Linked DNA regions of Homo sapiens: regions 2 and 3 are each linked to region 1. Evidence: promoter capture Hi-C in 16 types of primary human blood cells and fetal thymus (Javierre and others, 2016). All regions are on one chromosome and are shown on one strand. Each heading gives the region's core, a stretch centred on a gene start or on the middle of the fragment in contact. The rest is flanking DNA. Distances are from core to core; before and after follow the strand shown.

Region 1 (4,492 bases), core at 569-3,068:
TTCTTCACCCCTTTTAGCCTCAATTTCCTTATCTGCAAAATTAGTCACTGTGTTAAATAAGAAATAGCAAACAGAGGTATTATTAGCACTGAGCCTGGTATGGGCCCAATAAGGCAGCTATTACCATTACTGTGAAGACAAGCTGACCAGGGACCTCATTAATAACGTTGCAAAAGCTGCTACGGTCGTTTTCCTTTAAAACTCAGGCTGGGCACGGCGACTGACACCTGTAATCCCAGCACTTTGGGAGGCCGAACTGGGCGGATCGCTTGAGGCTGGGAGTTCGAGACCAGCCTGACCAACATGGCGAAACTCCGTCTCTACTAAAAAATATAAAAATTAGCCAGGTGTGGTGGTGCGCGGCTATAATCCCAGCTACTGGAGAGGCTGAGGCAGGAGAATCACTTGAACCTGGGAGGCGGAGGTTGCAGTGAGCCGGGATCACGCCACTGCATTCCAGCCTAGGCGACAGACCAGACTTTGTCTCAAAAAAAAAAAAAAAAAAAAGACAAAAATCCACTCTTTGCTTTTTTAGTAGGGTAACAACTATTGGTAACTTTCTCTTGTTCGATATTAGTGTAAAGGACTCCACAGAAATAAGAACAAAAAGGGTAGAGTTAAAAACCGAATTTTACAGGTAGCAATAACCTGGACTCAGGTAAAAGTGCGTGATGAAGAATTGATCAAAGGGCCTTCATCCTAGCTTTCAACTATTCTACCAATCCTCAGTAGACTTGATGGGGGTTAGAATGGTATTCCCTGGCATATGCTTTTAAAACAAAATCATTTCAGGCAAAAGAAAAGTCTAGCACCCAGGATAGTACACATACTAGGCAGGATTAATCTTAATAATTACTTGTTGAATCAAGAAGTTGTACATTTCAGATGAAAATTTTAATTTCCTAGGAAACACCGACTTACATTGAACAAAATTTTCATTTGCTATTATTCTGGACTCACCGAGAGCTCAAGATTCTAGTTTTTATCTTCACTTATTTCAAAAACCTTATGCGGTAGGAATTATCCCCAAAGTAATGAAAAAAAGGAATGAGCTTTAAAAGCGGTTGAGTAAACTGCCTAAAGTTAACAGTTTCTAAAGTAAAGAAGCAGCTGAGATTTGAACTTGCTTTTTAGGGCTCAAAAATCCAAGCTGTCTGAGCTTCACTAAAGCATGTACCACTACTTGTCTCCCTAAACTGTCTGATACACAGAACATTTATTAAATTTTAAGGATTTTTGTTTTTGTCTTCTATGTTGCCAGTCCTTCCATTTCACATTACCTCCTTTGCTGGGTAAGCTATATACCCTCAATACAACGAGAATGGTGTCAGAGTACAAGCCTTAAGAACAGAAAATTTCTTTTACTCCGTACGCCAGAGGTCTGGCGCCACCACCACAAGCGACAAACACAGGCTGGGGTCCAGAAACGCTGCCGACCGCGCCCAGATCTCAAGTTTTAGTCAAGGCCCACGTTCAGACTAGGAGAGGGGAGAAGAGAGGGTTCTCTTTCCCCACACCCTCGCCACGGTGGAAGCACAGAGGAGAAGGTTGGAGTCGCAGTAACAGTGCAAACAATAAACCCGAAAGCCCCTCTTAAGCCCGTTAAACGCACTTACTTGATTGAAGTAATTCCAGGACGCTAGGCCGGCACCGGCAACGGAAAAGGCTTCTCTGTCCTCCAGCCCAGGCGCTGGTGCTGACGACATCTGGACTGCGCCGCAGAGAGTGAAGGCCCAGCGCGAGGCCGCGAGCCCAGCGCCCAGAGCGCGCGCTCACGAAAGGAGCGGGGCATCCCAACGGCGCCACCTTTAAGCGTCACGGGTGGGGCTGCAGCTTCTGGACCTAGGACTTTGAACATGTCGCGCCTGAAGCGGATAGCGGGGCAGGATCTCCGCGCTGGTTTCAAAGCAGGTGGAAGAGACTGCGGTACCTCGGTACCCCAAGGGCTGTTGAAGGCAGCGAGGAAGAGCGGCCAGTTAAACCTGTCGGGTAGAAACCTCAGTGAAGGTAAGACCCAGAGGTACGACCCTATTGTGTCTCCTGTCAGAAAGCCTTTGGCCCAGGCAACCTCCCTTTTCTCTGGGCTGGCTTTGGCCCCCTTTCTCAGACTGCTAGCCAGAATTTCTGTGCTCTAATCTAATCCCTGTGCTCATTTCGACCGGTTTGGTTAGCCCAGTTCAGTTCCTTCCCAGGTTCCCGCAATCTCTGTTAAAGGGACCCTGCTAAAAATACGGTCTAAATTTAAACGGGGCGCTTTCTGGGATTCCCACATTCTGTGGGATAAGCAACATAATATGTGACGAAACCAGCTATCAAATCACGGGCAAATCTTTTGTTTCTTTGGCCCTTATTTTCCTCCTCTTATTGTAATCTTCAAGGGCAATTACCAAAGCTAAAATTATATGTTTTATCGGCCCCTTTGTGAACCTGCACTGTTCCCTGCCGAGACGCTCTTCTGTATGCAGCTGTGCAGAGTTCTACTTACAAGGAATAATGAGTATATTTTCTAAGTTGAAGATCAGGATAGATGCCACACAGAGTGTTTGAATGTGGGGACATCCTGAGAAACCTGTTAAAGACCAAGAAGCACAAATCTGGGTACCATGAATGAATGGCCAGATGCTCTTCTGATTGTCGTGTGTGTGTGTGTGTGTGTGTGTGTGTAAGAGAGAGAGGGAGGGGAATGGAGAGATGGAGAAATAGAGCATTTTTCCTGTAATGTTTTTCTTCATTTATATTTAGGTTTTAAGACTGATTAAAACCTTCCATTTTCCTTCTAATGATTGCTTTCTTATTGTGACATGTATAAAGTAGATTAGGCAAGCAAATGCTTCTGAATGAATGAAAAGACACAGAATCCTTACTCCACCTAAAAGAGTTTTTGATCAATGGGAACATACTCATTTTCAAACTACAGTTGTGCATATATATATATCTACTTGGTTTCCCCAAAACCTGAAACATTTTTCTCTAAACTTGCATACCTATCATGCTAACATTCTGTTCTCTTACCTGTTTAATTTTTTAACAGCATTTATCACTATCAGAATTTATATCATTTATGTTTTTTGTTTTCTCTGCCCTCCAACCAAAAGGTTAATATCATGAAGTCAGTGAGCTTTGTTTTGTGCTTTGTTGTATTTCTATCACTGAAAATAGTGCTTGGTACATAGTAGAGTCTTATTAAATTTTGCGGAAGCAATAAGTAAGTGAATGAGTATTCTCAAATCATAAGTGGTGTGCTAGAATGTACTTATTGACTAGACTCAGGTGGTTTCGTCTGTTAAACTTTAAGAGAGCACATGGATTCTGACTCTTAGGTCCGTGATGATATGGATTAGAACTGCTTAGGTTATTGTTATATAACCAGAACCTAACACTTTACCTGGTACATAAAATGATTTTAAATGAGTGAATAAACAGCATTTCATAGGAGGGAAAGATATAAATGGCAGAAACTCATGGTATTTGTAGCTTATATATAAAAAAGGAATCCCTGTTACTATAATATAGAAAGTCTTTCTCTGTCTGGCTGTATGTAGCCCTCAGTTTCATCACTTGTTAGTGAAACTTTGATAGGCAAACCACTATAATTCTGAACTGTTTGTAGTTCGTTACGGGGTCGTGCTTCTTATCTTCCTATCTTTGCTCACATAACATTGAGATGGTTAATCACTCTGTGCCCTAATTTCTCATTTATTATGCAGGAGTCATAACAGGACCTATTAAGGTCTAAATGAGATAAAATGAAATAAAGTGCCTGGTACATAAAAAGTACACAGTAAAAATTCACCATTGCTGTTATCATGGCAGCACCTTCTAGTTGGTTTCCTGGAGTTTTTACTTTACATCTCACTCTTGCTACTCCAGAGGCTGAGGCAGGAGGATCACTTGAGTCCAGGAGTTTAAGGCTGTAGTGCCTTATGATCACACCTGTGAATAGCCACTGCACTCTAGCTTGGACAATATTGTGAGACCCTGTCCATAAACAACAACAACAACTACCCTCACACTCTAAATCCTAGTGTCATTACCAAGAGTTATTTTTCCAAAACAGATCTTACATCACTCAAAACGTTTAATGACTTCCCATAGCCCAGAAGATACGGTATAGGTAAACTTTTTAGCACAGCATACAAAAGTCTTTCTAAACCTTTCCCTTAACTATTTACTTTGAGGCCTCTTTTCAGTATCCTATACTTTGATAATGATAGTAGCTCATGCCTGTAATCCCAGCACTCTGGCAAATTGAGAGGCAGGAGGATCGCTTTGAGGCCAGAAATTCAAGACCAGCCTGAGGCAACATAGTGAGACCCCATCTCTACAAAAAATACAAGAATTAGATGAGCATGGTGGCGTGCGCCTTTAGTCCTAGCTACTTGGAAGGCTGAGGTGGGAGGATTGCTTGAGCCTGAGTTGGAGGCTGCAGTGGGTGCTGTGATTGTGCCATTGCACTCCAGCTTGGGCAAGAGAGTGAGATCCTGTCTCTAAA
Region 2 (4,492 bases), core at 1,169-3,668, about 33 Mb before region 1:
TGAGACAACAGAATTGATGACATGAGAATATCAGACTCCCACTATAACCCCCCATCTACCAGCATATGCATGCTATCTGTTATCATCTATTAACTATCCACATGCCTATCTAAATCCAGCTGCTTAACTTATATACTAAATTCCATCCTCTCATCTCCTCAAGGGTCTTTACTTAGCTATGCTCTGGAATTGTGTGTGGTGAGGGGTGTGGAGGGTGATCTTATTTATACTGTTAATTTACTGTCCTCTATTGGATTATCCGTATCAGTATGAAAACATGCTCCTATTTCTCCCATCCTAAATTTGTATTATTAGTTTTGCAGTAAAACTCTGTACAAGCTATCTAAACCCTCTATCTACAACTCCTCTCTGCCTATTCAGTTTCAAACCTATTTCAATCAGGTTAATGCTTTAATAAGTTTACTGAGACTGCTTATCATAGACAACAAATTTTGCATTGTTGGGCTAATGATCAACTCCTAGTCTTCACTTGGTTGCATTTAACATAGTTAATCACTCCTTCCTGGATACATGTCATTCACTTGGCTTCAAGACTTCATACATTCTTAGTTTTCTTCCTAGCTCGCTGGTTTGTACTCCTCCATCTCTTTGACTTGTGCCTTCTCTCACGTTCTTAATGTTAGAATGCTCCAGAGCTCTTGTCCTGGTCTTCCTCTCTCTCTCAACATATTATGTTGGTGATTTAATCCAGCATCCGAACTTTAAATCTGTATGCTAATGATTCACTAATTTATAATTTCAGCACAGACTTCTGTCCTGAAGTCAAGGAACACATATTCAAATAATGGATAGCGCCCCATAGATATCTAACAAACATTTCAAATTCAACATTTCACTTAATCTTTCCCCCAGCCCCAAATGTGCTCCACCAGGAGCCATCTCTATTTCAGTTGATAGCAACTCCATTCTTCCAATTATTCAGGTCAAAAATCTTGTAATCATCCTTAATGCTTCTTTCCTACATTCCATATCCAAGTCATTAAGAAATCCTGTTTGCCTATACCATAAGGCCATAGTCATCAAAACAGCATGGTACTGGTATAAAAATAGGCACATAGACCAATGGAACAGAATAGAGAACACAGAAATAAACCCAAATACTTACAGGAAACTGATCTTCCAGAAAGCAAACAAAAACATAAAGTAGGGAAAAGACACCTTATTCAACAAATGGTGCTGGGATAATTGGCAAGTCGCATGTAGAAGAATGAAACTGGATCCTCATCTCTCACCTTATACAAAAATCAACTCAAGATGGATCAAGGACTTAAATCTAAGACCTGAAACCATAAAAATTCTAGAAGATAACATCAGAAAAACCCTTCTAGACATTGGCTTAGGCAAAGACGTCATGACCAAGAACCCAAAAGCAAATGCAACAAAAACAAAGATAAATAGATGGGACTTAATTAAACTAAAAAGCTTCTGCACAGCAAAAGAAACAATCAACAAACAGACAACCCATAGCGGGAGAAAATATTTGCAATCTATACATCCAAAAAAACCACTAATGTCCAGAATCTACAAGGAATCCAAACAAATCAGCAAGAAAAAAAACAATCCCATGGGCTAAGGACATGAATAGACAATTCTCAAAATAAGATACACAAATGGCCAACAAACATGAAAAACTGCTCAACATCACTAATGATCATGGAAATGCAAACCAAAATCATGAGGCAATACCTCCTTACTCCTGCAATAATGGTCATAATGAAAAAATCAAAACATAATAGATGTTGGCAGAATATGTGGTGAAAGTGACTTTCACACTGCTGGTGGTAATGTAAACTAGTACAGTAAGTATGAAAAATAGTGTGGAGATTCCTTAAAGAACTAAAAGTAGACCTACCATTTCATCCAGCAATCCCACTACTGAGTATCTACCCAGAGGACAATAAGTCATTATACAAAAAAGACAGTTGCACATGCACGTTTATAGCAGCACAATTTGCAATTGCAAAAATACGGAACCAGCCCAAATGCCCATCAATCAATGAGTGGATAAAGAAATTATGGTATATATATATATAACATGGAATACTACTCAGTCATAAAAAGGAACAAAATAATGGCATTTGCAGCAACCTAGATGGAATGGGAGACCATTATTCTAAGTGAAGTAACTCAGGAATCAAAAACCAAACATCGTATGTTCTCACTCCTAAGTAGGAGCTAAGCTATGAGGACCCAAAGGCATAAGAATGATACAATGGACTTTGAGGACTCAGGAGAAAGTGTTGGGAGTGGGGGTGAGGGATAAAAGACTTCACAATGGGCACAGTGTATATTGCTTGGGTGACAGGTACATCAAAATCTCAGAAATCACGACTAAAGAACTTATTCATGTAACTAAACACCACCTGTTCCCCCAAAACCTACTGGAATAAATACAGTAAGAAATCCTTGCTTCTACCTTCAAAATATATAAAGAATCTAATCACCGCTAACCACTACCATTGTGGTCAAGGCAACCATCAATTCTGGACTGAATTACCACAATATTTTAACGGATTTCCCTGTTTCTACCTTTCCCTCCCTTCAGTCTAGTCACAACAGCAAAAGCAATTCTTTGAAATACCAAGGTCACCCCCTTGCTCCAATGGCTCCCTATTTTACTGACAGCAATCTAAGTTCCTTACTATAATCTACATAATATAGATTCTATGACTTCTCTGACTTCAAATCCAATGATCACTCCCACTCCTGCTCCCACAGATCACTCCCACTATGTCTGCTCCAGTCACAGTGGCTTCCTTGAACAACGTGACAGGCATGGTCACATCCTAGAGCCCCTGTTCCAGCTGTTCCTCTAATTCAAAGGTACTTCTCCCAGAAATTTCATTAGCTAACTCCCTTCGCATCCTTCAAATTGTTGTTCAAATATAACCCTAACTACAGCCTGACCTCTCCCCACTTAGCACTCCTGATCTTATTGCTCTACTTGTCCTTTTTCCATAGCATTTATCATCTTCTAAAATATTAAAGTTTATTATTTATTGTCTGTCTCCCCTTTTGAGAATATGAACTATAATCATCTTTGTCTTCACATATAATCCCAAAACCTAAATCAGCATCTAGCACATAGTAGGTACTTAATATTTTTGAACACATGAAAGTACAAGCCTTAACCAGAGACCGGTTTTGTGCAAGACAATTTTTCCACAGGCTGGGGTGGGGGGTGGGGAGAAGATGGTTTCGAGATGAAACTGATTCATCTCGGATCATAAGGCATTAGTCAGATTCTCATTGAGAGCGCAACCTAGATCCCTTGCATGTGCAGTTCACAACAGGGGCCAAGGCACTGCTGATCTGACTGGAGGTGGAGCTCAGGCAGCCAGGCGGAGTCGCCCTGAATAGAGATAAAGCTTCCTCAGCCTGCCAGTCACCTCCTGCTGTGCGGCCCAGGTTCTAACAGGTGGTGGTTAGGTACCAGGCCGTGGCTGGGTACCAGTCTGTGTCCCAGGGTTTGAGGATCCCTGCCTTACATCATCATACAAAGTTAATTTTAAAATGTTTCAATAATTTTCAAGACCCTAAATGAACTTTAGACCTCTTTATTATCAGTGAAGCCTTGATTATCTGAAATGAAGGTCATCTAACCTGACTTACTCCAACTTTCTTCTTCTCAAATGGGTATCACATATGTTCTTATTTTCAAAGATTTATGGTTTTTCATTTTTAATGTTAACTCCTCCTACCTGACTCGGCTACTTACTCTATTCTTGAACATTTCTCCCTTTGTTTTCTTAATCTATCACTTTCCAATTAGGCCAAATGCTCTCTAGCCTAAAAGCCCTATCAATATTGCCGTTAACCTCTTACTGCTTCCTTTCACTACAGACATTTCCAAAGACAATGACTGGCTCCATGTCCTCTCCTCCAAGTTATTCTTGACCCTAAAACAATGCGTTTTTCATTACCATACTTTATTTACAATGTATTATGATATATTTTTAAAAATACTTTTTTTCTGAAAAAAAATTACCTACCATTATAAAAGTACATATTAATATAATATGAAAGCCCTCTGTAATCCTACTCTCAGAGAAAGATGTTTTTAACATTTTGGTGTATAGTTCTGCCATATTTTTTCTGTGTATATGCTAACATGTATACTATTAGTTTCAAAAAATCTGAGGTTACATCATATATAATGTTTCACAACTTTATTCATGTACTCTATCTGGGCTATCATTCCATATTAACACATACCATTTGACATCATTCTCAGACAGTTGCAGTCCAGTATATGGATATAATGTGATTTAAGGCTTCCCTTCCTTTTACCGATGAGAATTTGGGTCATTTCTATTGTTTCATGGCAAAAAGACTTTAATAGATGTGTTCATTCCTCATTTTGCATCATCACAGGATTTCATCTTCTTAAAACACACTTCTCTTTGCATCAGTGATAATTTCCTTTCTAGTTCTCCTACTTTAACTGCTCCTTCCCATTCTTCTCTCCTAG
Region 3 (4,492 bases), core at 195-2,694, about 24 Mb before region 1:
TATAAGTTTTTGATACATGTATTTCAAGTGGTTAATTTACCATAAAAATATGAAATGTTAGCCTGGGGAATGAGAAAATCACTGCCTTGGGTTCTTCATGGAATGGCTCATTCATTTGACATTATGGAGCCAGGTGTTGGGTGTGCACCTGTAGTCCCAGCCACCCAGGGAGGTTGAGGTAGGAGGATCACTTGAGTCCCAAGAGTTCAAGGCTGCAGTGGTCACTACTGCACTCCATCCTGGGCCAACAGTGAGACCCTGTCTCAAAAAATAAAATAAAATGATGAAAAATATATTTATTTAGAGTTTTTTTTCAGGAATTCCTCATAAAAATAAGATGCTTTTTTTTCTTTATTGTGGACAATACAAGGGAAGAGAAGAATAAGTGATTTTTTAAAATGCCATCTTATATGTTTCCATTTTGATTTAATTACTTGATCTTTAAGTGATGATTTCTTTTTCAGTCTGAAGTTGACAAGCAGCAGCATAGACCCTGGTCTGAGTATCAAGCAGTTGGGTGGTTTGTATATTAATTTTAATGCAGATAAACTACAGTCTAACAAGAGAACCCTAACACAGATCAAGGAGAAAAAGAAAAATGAGGTAAGTTAATTGTGCTGTTAGGTTTTCACAGAACTAACCAATCACTTTTAGAAATTAGTCCTTGGTAAAAGACTTAATTTTCCTACAGTGAAACCACATTGGCCTAATGTGTTAGTTTTTTCCTTCTCTCTAAAACAGTCATTTCTTTTTACAATAAAATCCTATCTATGAATGATAATGCTTTAAAAATAAATCAATACAGGGTCAGTGTTCCTCATCTTACACCCACCAATTATGATCCCAGGGGTTTTGTTTTTTTCCCTTTTCTTGCTATACTTTTAGTTCTTAAGTTCTTAACTAGTGTAGACTGTTGAGAATCTGAAAGCTGTGAATGCCTGCCTGCCTCTTCCACCCGGAAAAAAATGCACATGTGCATATAGACATTTTACATATAATTTCAGAAGGAATTACTGTTAAGGTAACTTTACCCAAACCCTTAGCTTTAGCCAACACCTTGCACTGTTTTCTCCTAAATCTATATTTTCTAGCCTTGATGCTTCTCACTGTCACTTTCAGACCTTTAAATCCAAGTACCTATTTGTTCATTTAGATGTCCTCAGGTACTTGACGTCACTAATTCCCCTTTCCCTGCCTGAACCAGGAATCCTCTTCTTGTATTCTTTTTTCTGGCTAATGAAACCAAACTCTCTTTTCCTTTTGTAGTCAGTCACCAAGCCTCTAGGGGAAGATATTTCTCTGCTTCCTCCTTTTCAAGCGACTGTCACCAGCTAGTGCAGGCCTTTGCTTCTCATCTGGACTACTCCAGTGGCTTCCTTATTGATCTTGTTTTCATCTTGTTCTTCAAGCCATCCTCCACACTTCTAGATTTCTCTGTCTAAAAACACAAATCCGGCTGGGCAAGGTAGCTCACATCTATAATCCCAGCACTTTGGGAGGCTGAGGCAGGAGAATTGTTTAAGCCCAGGAGTTTGAGACCAACCTGGGCAACATAGCTAGACCACATCTCTCCTCCCTGCCCCAAAAAACACACCACACACACAGATGTGACAGTATTCTCTTGAATCCTTCAAAGTACCTCTCTACCCCACCCAGCTGTCATCTGCTCTATTCTTGCCACTGAAGACTACTGTAGTTGCCTGAACTTACCCTGCTTTTCCCCAAGCAAGTGCAAAATAATTGATCGTTGCCCTTGGGGAATATTTTACCTCCAGTCCTTCTCACAACCCCTCTGTTTCCATAACATCTAGCATAGATCTGATTCATTGTTGATCATGTGATATATTAACTTACCATCTTTTCTTTATATTCCTAAAACAGGGTTTTTCAGTCTCAGCACTACTGATGTTTTGGGCTGCATAATTTTGTTGTGAGATGTTCCGTGCATAGTAGGATGTTTAACAGCATCCCTATCTTTTGCCCACTAGATGTCAGTAGCATTCTTCCTTATCCTCACCACCACCAAAAATGTCTCCAGACATTGCCAGATGCTCCCAGTTGAGAACCACTGTCCTTGAATGTACTACAGTACTTGACTCACAGCAAACTCTTAATCATTTGTTAAGTAAATATCATGCCCCCTTTTATGAGTGATAGGAAAGCCTAGACGGCTACCTATACCACACAGAAACATCTAGGCCTGAACCTGAATTGTGTGCCTGACTGTTAATTTCTGAGTTGATCATTTCAAATGTCAGTCCCAAATTAATGCTTGTACTATATTCCTGTAAACTATTTTGAGGGCTACAGAGCAGTCTTACTTGGTTCTTGTACTGAGAAAAATACTAATTAACCTGAGGTTCCTTTAGTCACACAGAGTTTTAGGAGAATATAATCATCCTAGTCAAGTAACAAAAGTACAGAAATCATTTAGGAAAAGATAAACAGATTTGACTGCACAAATTTATTTATTTATTTTGGAGAAATGGCGTTTTCTTATGTTACCCAGGCTAGTCTTGAACTCCTGGCCTCAAGTGATTGTCCTGCCTTGGCCTCCTAAAGAGTTGGGATTATAGGCATGAGCCATCGTGCCTGGCCTTTTTTTTCTTTTTTCTTTTTTTTTTTGGGAGGGAGCTGGGTTTGGGGGGAGACAGGGTCTCACTCTGTCACCCAGGCTGGAGTGAGTGGCACAGTCATAGCTTGCTGCAGCCTCAAGCTCCTGGCCTCAAGTGATCCTTCTGCCTTAGCGTCCTGAGTAGCTGGGACTACAGGTGTGTGCCACCATGCCCAACTAATTTCTTTTCTTTTTTTTTTTTTTTTTACAGTCAGGGTCTTGCTATGTTGACCAAGGTGGTCTAAAACTCCTGGCCTCAAGTGATCCTCCTCCCTTGGCCTCCTCAAAGCACTAGGATTATAGGTGTGAGCCACTTTGCCAGGCTGACTAAAAATTTTAAAACTTACAGAAGTTTAAACTGTTGAAAAACTTATATAACATTCTGACATTATTTTAAAACCAATTTTATGTTTTTATAGCTTCTGCAGAAAGCCGTCATTACACCTGATTTTGAAAAAAACCACTGTGTTCCACCATATAGTGAATCAAAGTATCAACTTCAGAAAAAACGCAGAGTAAGTACAGTGACTTAATTAAAATGCTTAGATATGTTTGGCTATATATTTTCAGCTTATACAACATAACTGCACAATTAAACTGTATCTGTTGGTCTATATATGAGTCCAAAGAAAATAATTACAGATTTCTAAGGGCTGTAAAATATAGTACCATAAACACATTATGTATAGATTTTCACATCTTTGCAGCCACAATAGTGCATCTATAAGTAGAGGTTTTTTAAAAAAATATATATATATATAGATTACTTCTATCTGCCATTTCGACTAGTTATCCAGAGAGCTTGAAGGAAAGTTGAGGATGGTATTCTAGTAATGTTACTGTAATATGGAGCACCCTGGCACATGGTAGGCACTAACTAAATACTTGTTGTATGAATGAAACAAAATTAAATAACTTGTAGGAGTTTTCTAAAGAATAGTATTTTGTTTTATTGTAGAAATAACACAAGGTTCTGGATCCTTGTATGAGTGGCATTCTGAGACTCCTGGGTGACTGAATAAAAATGTTTACATATAAGCTCTAGAAACGAAAGTGTTTTTATACATTTTCTTACTGCATATAGTCTGTTTTAGACAATAAAAATTGAAGTTGTGTGTTATTCTCCCAGCAAGTCAGCAGTTACTCTCTGAGACAGAAAATAGATTTTACGGAGCCCTCATTTATGAAACTGATAATCCTGTCCCTAATTTAGCGGAGAAGTCACTTTTTGTGATTTAATTCCTTTTATCTCTATGATTCTGGATTTAAGTGCTTTCAATAAAGTAACCATTTGTTTTTAATTTACAAAATTTTCTGTATGTGTTACTTCAGGGGAAATGAATTATAATGTATACTCTTAGCTGTTAGAATGTTTATTTTTGAAATCATAATTTCAGAAAGAACGACAAAAAACAGCAGGGGATGGCTGGTTTGGTATGAAAGCTCCAGAAATGACAAATGAACTGAAAAATGATCTCAAAGCACTGAAGATGAGAGCCAGCATGGACCCGAAAAGATTTTACAAGAAAAATGATAGAGATGGCTTCCCCAAGTACTTCCAGGTATGAAGCAAACAGAATAGTGGTGATGATCTGTGAATTTTAGTTTGGAAAGCACTGTAGTGTTCTTTAAAGTTTACTCCTAAAATAGAGGATATTTCCATTGTGCATGCCTAATGTATGGAACATATCTGCATAGGCCATATAAGAATGGCCATTACCCAATTCAGCCACTAACTTTTAATTTGATCACATTTAGAGAGATGGTGTTACAAATGGTTTCCAGGTCAGCTAAAACCTGTTGAACCTATAAAGTTCACTATGTGAATGTATGAATAGTATCAGCCTAACAGCAAGAGTCCATACGGGATAGGGGTAA

Evidence for each region. Contacts are between HindIII fragments. The CHiCAGO score rates a contact against its expected background, and 5 or more counts as called.
Region 2: a fragment that was not itself captured here is called in contact with the fragment with the promoter of LRRC40 in region 1 in 1 of 17 cell types (total CD8 T cells); the score reaches 7.0 in total CD8 T cells.
Region 3: a fragment that was not itself captured here is called in contact with the fragment with the promoter of LRRC40 in region 1 in 1 of 17 cell types (non-activated CD4 T cells); the score reaches 6.4 in non-activated CD4 T cells.

What each region holds. Positions count from the first base shown.
Region 1 is chr1:70,202,905-70,207,396 of GRCh38, reverse strand. It overlaps LRRC40 (leucine rich repeat containing 40), which reads left to right and starts at 1,818. Exons shown (of 15, transcript NM_017768.5): 1 at 1,818-2,007. The coding sequence starts at 1,857. It also overlaps a transcript of SRSF11 not described here. RefSeq lists enhancers at 1,595-1,904, 2,165-2,224. The HindIII fragment of the contact is 8,465 bases long and covers 1-4,492 here.
Region 2 is chr1:103,528,771-103,533,262 of GRCh38, reverse strand. All of the region lies in intron 2 of RNPC3 (RNA binding region (RNP1, RRM) containing 3), which reads right to left. Among named protein-coding and RNA genes, the nearest start is that of RNPC3, 5.3 kb to the right of the region's middle. The HindIII fragment of the contact is 1,946 bases long and covers 1,446-3,391 here.
Region 3 is chr1:93,871,756-93,876,247 of GRCh38, reverse strand. DNTTIP2 (deoxynucleotidyltransferase terminal interacting protein 2) reads left to right here. Exons shown (of 7, transcript NM_014597.5): 3 at 465-603; 4 at 3,034-3,129; 5 at 4,012-4,176. Among named protein-coding and RNA genes, the nearest start is that of DNTTIP2, 5.2 kb to the left of the region's middle. The HindIII fragment of the contact is 7,821 bases long and covers 1-4,492 here.